Regions from separate parts of the Homo sapiens genome. Here region 2 is linked to region 1. Evidence: promoter capture Hi-C in 16 types of primary human blood cells and fetal thymus (Javierre and others, 2016). All regions are on one chromosome and are shown on one strand. Each heading gives the region's core, a stretch centred on a gene start or on the middle of the fragment in contact. The rest is flanking DNA. Distances are from core to core; before and after follow the strand shown. Region 1 holds the start of DPY19L3 (dpy-19 like C-mannosyltransferase 3). Region 2 has its middle 6.3 kb from the start of URI1.

Region 1 (3,979 bases), core at 350-2,849:
AAAGCTACCAACAACCAGGCTGAAACAAGACAAATGCCATCTGAAAAAACAGCTGACATTTGTTTCTATCAAAGCCATCCAGCAGATACCTCAACATCTTTCCACAGAACGTGTGCTCTTTACTAACAACCGACACACAAAGGAGGACGATCTCCAACAGAGGTGACTAGGAAAGGCTTCCTGGATGGCGTAATTTAGTGTTGGAGTCAGACCAATGAGCCGCCTTTTCACGGGTGGAGGTCCCAGATGGCCATCCCTTTAACAAAAATCAATTAACATGTAAATTATGTACTGACAAATACAACGTTTGATGGGCCCGCTGCAGTGGCTAAAGCCTGTAATCCCAACATTTTGAGAAGCTGAGGCAGGAGGCCTGCTTGAACTCAGGAGTTTTAGACCAGACTGGTCAACACAACGAGACCCCATCACTATAAAAATTAAAATGAATCTCAGCTACTCAGGAGGCTGAGGAAGCAGGGTCACTTGGGCACAGGGGACTAAGGTTGCAGTGAGCTACGATCACACCACTGCACTCCAGCCTGGACGACAAAGCAAGACCCCCATCTCTACGAAAAATTTAAAAATTAGCTGGGCATAGTAGTGCGAGCCTGTGGTCCCAGCTACTCCGGAGGCTGAGGCGGGAGGATCGCTTGCGCCCAGGAGGCCGAGGTTGCAGTGAGCCGTGATAGCACCACTGCACTCCAGCCTGGGCGACAGACTGAGAGCCTCACCTGTAAAAAATAATTTTAAAAAAGGTTCCACCTAGTGTTTTCCGTGGTGTGACTAAGAAAAGTATCTAGAAATAAAGCACAGTCAGTACCTGCTCTCAAAAAACGGCTGCCAATCTAGTTTGGAGACAGAAAAATATACCCGACTGAGAACACAGAGGAGCCTGTTTTCGGAAGAGGGGCGTCTTTGGAGACGCAAAATCCTCTCCGCGGGACGCTGACGGGCAGTCGGTAAAGGACTTCCAAGCACTGGTCAGTGACAATCGGGCGCTGGGGCTTTGCCAAGGCCCGGAGGCGGCGCGCCAAACCGGGCAATGCGGGAAGCGGGGCAGGCCCGAGTGGCCCTACTGCTGCCGTCCCTACTGATCCCTGCGCATCCGCCACAGAGCAGGGAACGGCAGAAAGGAGGAAGGAGGGGGAGTTCCGTAAATCAGGCCCTCAGGGGCTCCCAGGCCCGCACCCCTCTCAAGCCCCGGGGACCACCGCGGAGCCGCTGCTCCGGGCCGTGCGGCTCGAGGCGAACCTGCCTCAGAGCCGCCGGGCCCTCCTATCCCGAGCCGTATCTCTAGCTCCGGCCTGAGGTGGCCGGCGACTGCGTGCGCAAACACAAGATCCGCACCCCACTCCCCGCCACTGCAGCTCCGCGGCCGCGCTCAGAGTCTCCGGAACAGACCGGACTCAATGCGGACCAGGCAAGCGGAAGTGTGCCGCTTCCTTCCGGCCAGCGCAGCACGAGACGAGGCGGGGAACCGCGGGAGGAGGCGGGGCCTAGTGTTGACGAACAGCTCCCGGGGCCTATGGGCGCGGGGGCAGCCGCCCGGCCTCTCCGGCGCGCCCCCTCCCCGGGGCTGTTGACGCCCCCCAGCCCCTCATTTCCACAAAGCTCCGCGGCGGTTCTGCCCTCCTTGTACCCGCGGCGCGCTGCGGCCCGTGGCGCGGCCCCGTTCCCGCCTAGCCCCGTCGGCCTCCTTCCCCTCCCGGAGCCGCGCGTGAGGACGGCTGAGGCCGCAGGTCTGTGGCGGCGCGCCGGGACGCGCGGGCGAGGGTCTACCGAGAGGGCGGGCGGGCGCCGGCGGAACCCTCGGCTACAGCCCCGAGCCCCTGGGGCCGCCCCTCCCCGCCGCGTGGCGCAGTCGGGGGGCGCGGCCGCGGCGTCGGGGCGTCGGGAGGGGCGGAGCGCGGGAGTGTCTGCCGGGACGCGGGCCGGGCTGGGCTCCGGAAGGACCAAGTTTGCGGAGCGGCTTCTGCTCGTCGGCCGTGCGGCGAGGCAGGGCCTGGGCTGCGACCCCGGCGGCCGCTCGCGGTCTTGGGAGAGCTGGGGCGCGTGCCTGAACTTCCCGGCTGCCCCTGTCCTTGGAGACCTACCTGATGGGGACGCCAGGTGTGCAGGGGCGTGGCGCGTAGGTAAGCGGACCCGGTGCCTGCCTCGTCCAGGGGATGCTCACTAGAGCGCTAGGCTTTTTTATTTTTATTTTTTAGAGACAGGGGTCTCGCTGTCTCGCCCAGGCTGGAGTGCAGTGGCGTTATCACGGCTCACTGCAACCTCGAACTCTTGGGCTCAAGCGATTCTCCCACCTCAGCCTCTGGAGTAGCTGGGACCACAGGCATGCACCACCGAGCCTGGCTATTTTATTGTATAGATAGGGTCTCGCTCTGTTCCCCAGGCTGGTCTCAAACTCATGGTCTGAAGTCATCCTCCTGCCTCAACCTCCCAAAGCGCTGGGATTACATGAGCCGCCTCGCCCGGCTAGCGCTAGTCGTCCTTATTAATAAAGAATCGCTTCTGGTCCCTTTTCAGTTGTTTACAATGGCATTCCTTTTGATCTGATGGAGGAACTTTTTTTCTTAGTTCATGGGACTGTTGCAGTGCCTGACACATAATTGGTACTTAAATATGTGTTGGTTTTCTGCCTTAACATATTAGAATATATGAATTGTTTAAAAAAGTCCTCTCACACTTAGGGAGGACTCTAGGATGAGGTCACATGGGGGATAAGCCCATCTGTGGCTGTAGGACTTTGTTAAACACTCCTCTTCTCCCTCTCTGTTCCAGATTCTCCATTTCCAGTGCTTGAAAGCACAGTACTTAAATCTGGCTTCCTGCTTTTTTTTTTTTTTTTGGTATGAATGAATACATGAATTGTATAATGTTAGTTGGTTTGTTCTGTAGAGCAAGTTACCCTTAGGAATTAATAAACTGTGGAAACAATCATGTCAGGCTACTAGTCACATTTAAGAAATAATTAGTAAGAGGCTGTTCATTATTCAGAGGAGTGAAGCAAGATGTTCTGGAGGACTGGAACCCGCTTACTCACTGCCACCACTCCCCCGCCTCCCACTTGCTGCTGCCAAACCAGGCTCCTGCTCCCCCCCACCCATTACTCCCACCGACGCTCCCTGGGATAGCAGCTGCCCTGATTGGCACACCCCCGCAGTCATCACCACTGAGGCGTATTCCTGAAGCTGCCAGTGTGAATTGTTTTATAGAACACTGGTGTTAAAATTCAGGTACCTGAGACAAAACAATATTTTAATTCTTCAAAATCCGGTTGTCAACACATTTACTATGGAGTATCTCCCACGTGGCCACTTCTGTGGGAGGTACTGAAGACCTACTACCGCCTATGGAAGTAGAAAATAATATACAACTGTGTAGTTACGTGACGCATTGCGTGGTAACTGCTATGGCTCAGGGAGGGAGAAGATCAGCCGGAACTGGAATGTCCCAAGATGTTCTGGAAGAAAAGCAGTGGCTCGTTTGTGTTGCTTACCTGTATTCCTGACTCCTGGCAGGGCCTGCTGTAGAGCACATGCTTCATGAATAAATATGATTGAGTTGAATAAATATTTGAATTGTGTTTTGAGTGTAGCTTTGAAGGCCAGCAACGATTTAGATGGCAAGATCGAGGGCAGGCTGGGCACAATGGCTCATTCATGTAATCCTAGCACTTTGGGAGTCCAAGGCGGGGAGGATCGCATGAGGCCAGGAGTTCAGTACCAGCCTGGGCAAGATAGGGAGACCCCATCTTTACAAAAAATAATTAGCCAGGTGTAGTAGCACATGCCTGTAGTCCAGATACTCGGGAGGCTGAGGTGGATCACCTGAGCCTGTGGAAGTAGAGGCTACAGTGAGCCGTGATGGTGCCGCTGCACTCCAGCCTGAGTGACAGTGAGACCCTGTCTTGGGGGGAAGAAAAAAAAAGGGAGGGCATGCTAATAGAGGGAAAATGGCATAAGTAAAGGCATTTCAG
Region 2 (3,609 bases), core at 1,091-3,590, 2.5 Mb before region 1:
CTTCTGACCTTAGGTGATCCACCTGCCTTGGCCTCACAAATTGCTAGGATTACAGGCATCAGCCACCATGCCTGGCCTTATTCCATCTTTCTGCTAGCTTTGGTTTTAGTTTACTCTTCTTTTTCTAGTTACCTAAGCCACATAGTTAGGTTATTGATATGTTAGTTTGCTAGGGCCATGATAACACTTTATCACGAAGTGAGTAGCTTAAACAATAGAAATTTATTTTCTCACAATTCTGGAGGCTGGAAGTCCAAGATCAAGGTGTCAGCAGGGTTGATATTTTCTCAGGCCTCACCCCTTGGCTTGCAGATGCTGCCTTCTCACTACAATCCCACGTGGTTTTTCTTATGTGTACACACATGCTACTGTTCAGATCTCTTCTTCTCTGTTATGACATGAGGTCTTGCTCTGTAGCCCAGGCTGTAGTGCAGTGGTGAGCTCATAGCTCACTGCAGCTTCGACCTCTTGGGCTCAAGCAATCCTCCTGCCTTAGCCTCCCAAGTCGCTGTGACTACAGGCATGTGCCACCAAACCTGGCTTATTTTTTTTTAATTTTATTTATTTATTTATTTATTTTTAGAGACCAGGTCTCACTATGTTGCTCAGGATAGTCTTGAATCCTGGGCTCAAGTGATCCACCTGCTTTGGCTTCCCAGGGATTGGTAGCATAAGTGCTGGGATTACAGGCATAAGCCAACATGCCCATATTATTTTCTTACTTTCCATCCTTTCGAATCTTTTGATCCAAAGTAAGTCTCTTGCAGACAGCATATAAATTAATAATTTTTAGAAATCCATTCTATCAATCTCTGCCCTTTAATTAGACAGTTTAGTCCATTTACATTTAAAGTAATTACCAATAAAGGATTTAATTCTGCCATTTATTTAATAGCTATTTGCTTTTCTGTACATTTTTTAAATTTTGTTCCTCAATTCCTCCACTACTACATTTTTTTGGTATTTAATAGATTTTAGTGTATCATTTTGATTCCTTTTTTCTTTCCCTGTCTGTATATTTTTTAGTTATTTTCTTAGCGGTTGCCTTGGGGATCACAATTAGCATCTTAAATTTATAACACCCTAATTTGAATAATACTAACTTAGTTTTAAGAGTATACAAATACTTTGCTCCTATACATCTCTTTCCCTCCCTCTTTATATTATTATTGTCCCAGATCATATCTTTATACATTCTGTGCCCATTAACATAGATTTATAATTATTGTTTCATGCATTTGCCCTTTAAATGATAGGTGAAAAACAAAGTATTATGAACAAAACCTACAATAATACTGGCTTTTATATTTACTGATGTATGTAGTTACTATTTTTATCAGTGTTCTTTTTTTTTCTCATCATGGCTTTGAATTACTATCAAGTTTCCTTTCATTTCAGCCTGATGGATTCATTTTAGCAGCTCTTGTAGAGCAGGGCTACTAGCAATGAGCTTTCTCTGCGTTTATTTATCTGAAAATGTCTTAATTTCTCCTTTATTCCTGAAGGATAGTTTGTCTGGTAGGAAATTCTTGGTTGACAGTCTTTTTTTTTTTTTTCCCCAGGACTTTAACTGTGTTATTCCACTGCCTCTGGGCCTCTGGTTCCTTTTCTTTTCTTTTCTTTTCTTTTCTCTTTTCTTTTTTTTTGAGATGGAGTCTCACACTGTCATCCAGGCTGGAGTGAAATGGTGCCGTCTTGGCTCACTGCAACCTCTGCCTTCCAGGTTCAAGCAATTCTCCTGCCTCAGTCTCCCAAGTAGCTGGGACTACAGGCACCCGCCACCACGCCTGGCTAGTTTTTTGTATTTTTAGTAGAGACAGGGTTTCACTATGTTGACCAGGCTGGTCTAGAATGCCTGACCTCATGATCCACCTGCCTTGGCCTCCCAAAGTGCTGGGATTATAGGCGTGAGCCACTGTGCCCGGCACTTAAAAAAAATTTTTTTTTGAGATGGAGTTTTGCTTTTTTAGAGTTTTGCTCTTGTGCCCAGGCTGGAGTGCAGTGGTGCAATCTTGGCTCACTGAAACCTCCACTTCCCAGGTTCAAGCAATTCTCCAGCCTCAGCCTCCCAAGTAGATAGGATTACAGGTGCCCACCACCGCATCTGGCTAATTTTTGTATTTTTAGTAGAATGGGGTTTCGCCATATTGGTCAGGCTGGTCTCGAACTCCTGACCTCAGGCGATCTGCCCACCTCGGCCTCCCAAAGTGCTGGAATTACAGGCCTGAGCCACTGCACCCAGCCCCTCTATGGTTTCTGATGAAAGCTTAGCTATTAATGTTACTGAGGACTCCTTGTACCTTACAAGTTGTTCCTCTCTTGCTGCTTTCAAGATTCTCTTTTTGTTTCTGATTTTTGACAATCTGGCTGTGAGTTTCAGTATGAATCTCTGAGTTTCTCGCGCTTGTAATTTGTTAAGCTTCTTGGACGTGTATGTTCATATCCTTCATCAAATTTGGGAAGTTTTCAGCCATTATTTCTTCAAATTTCTTTTTCTGTCCCTTCCTGTTCCTCTTCTCCTTCAGGAACTTCTACTATGCATATGTTGATATATGCTTGATGGCATCACATGGATCTATCAGGCTCTGTTCATTTTTCCTTTTCTTTTTTTTGAGATAGAGTCTCACTCTATTGCCCAGGCTGGAGTGCAGTGGCATGATCTTGGCTCACTGCAACCTCCTCCTTCTTGATTCAAGTGATTCTCTGGCCTCAGCCTCCCCAGCAGCTAGGGTTACAGGTGCGCGTCACAATGCCTGGCTAATTTTTGTATTTTAGTAGAGATGGGGTTTCACCATGTTGGCCAGGCTGATCTCAAACTCCTGAATTCAAGTGATCCACCCTCCTCGGCCTCCCAAAGTGCTGGGATTACAGGCATGAGCCACCATGGCCAGCCTATTTTTCGTTATTTATTTTTCTCTCTTTACAACTGGACAATTTCAATTGCCTTATCTTCAAGTTCACTGGTTCTTTCTTCTTCCTGATTCTTCAGATCAGCTTTTTGATCTCTCTAGTGAATTTCTAAGTTCAAGCTATTGTACTTTTCGGCTCCAGGATTTCTATTTTGTTCCTTTTTATAAGATTAAACTATCTCTTCATTGGCCTTCCCTATTTGTTCATATATTATTTTGGTTTCCTTTAGCTCATTGGGTGTAAGACAGTTGATTTAATGTCTTTGACTAATGTTTCCAATGTAAAGGCTTCCTTGGGGATGGCTTCTATTGAATTCTTTTTTTCCCCCTGTGAATAGGCTATACTTTCCTTTTTCTTTGTATGCTTTGTAATATTTTGTTGAGCACTTGGCATTTTGGGTATTATTGTAGTAACTCTGAAAATCAGATTCTCCTCCTCTTCAGGGATTGCTGATTTTTGCTTGTTGAGGGTTGCAGCCATCTGTTTGTTTAGAGACTTTTCCAAACTATGTTTGCAAAGTGTGTAGTCCTTATTGCATGTGGTTACTGATGTTTTTGTTTCATAATCTTTACAGGCAACCAGTGACCTGGAAATGATATCTGTAAATTTCTGGCTACAAAAAGGTGTTCTTTACTTTCAAATCTCCTGATGGATGCTGCCATAGGAAGCACAAGAGGGCTGAAACCAATACAGGAGTCT

The links. The method cuts DNA at HindIII sites, captures the fragments that hold promoters and counts their contacts. A CHiCAGO score of 5 or more calls a contact.
Region 2: a fragment that was not itself captured here is called in contact with the fragment with the promoter of DPY19L3 in region 1 in 1 of 17 cell types (total B cells); the score reaches 5.3 in total B cells.

What each region holds. Positions count from the first base shown.
Region 1 is chr19:32,404,171-32,408,149 of GRCh38, forward strand. It overlaps DPY19L3 (dpy-19 like C-mannosyltransferase 3), which reads left to right and starts at 1,600. Exons shown (of 19, transcript NM_001172774.2): 1 at 1,600-1,739. DPY19L3-DT (DPY19L3 divergent transcript) reads right to left here and starts at 1,369. Exons shown (of 3, transcript NR_046201.1): 1 at 821-1,369. RefSeq lists silencers at 1,152-1,201, 1,232-1,981. The HindIII fragment of the contact is 5,769 bases long and covers 1-3,979 here.
Region 2 is chr19:29,934,159-29,937,767 of GRCh38, forward strand. It overlaps a transcript of URI1 not described here. Among named protein-coding and RNA genes, the nearest start is that of URI1, 6.3 kb to the right of the region's middle. The HindIII fragment of the contact is 153 bases long and covers 2,265-2,417 here.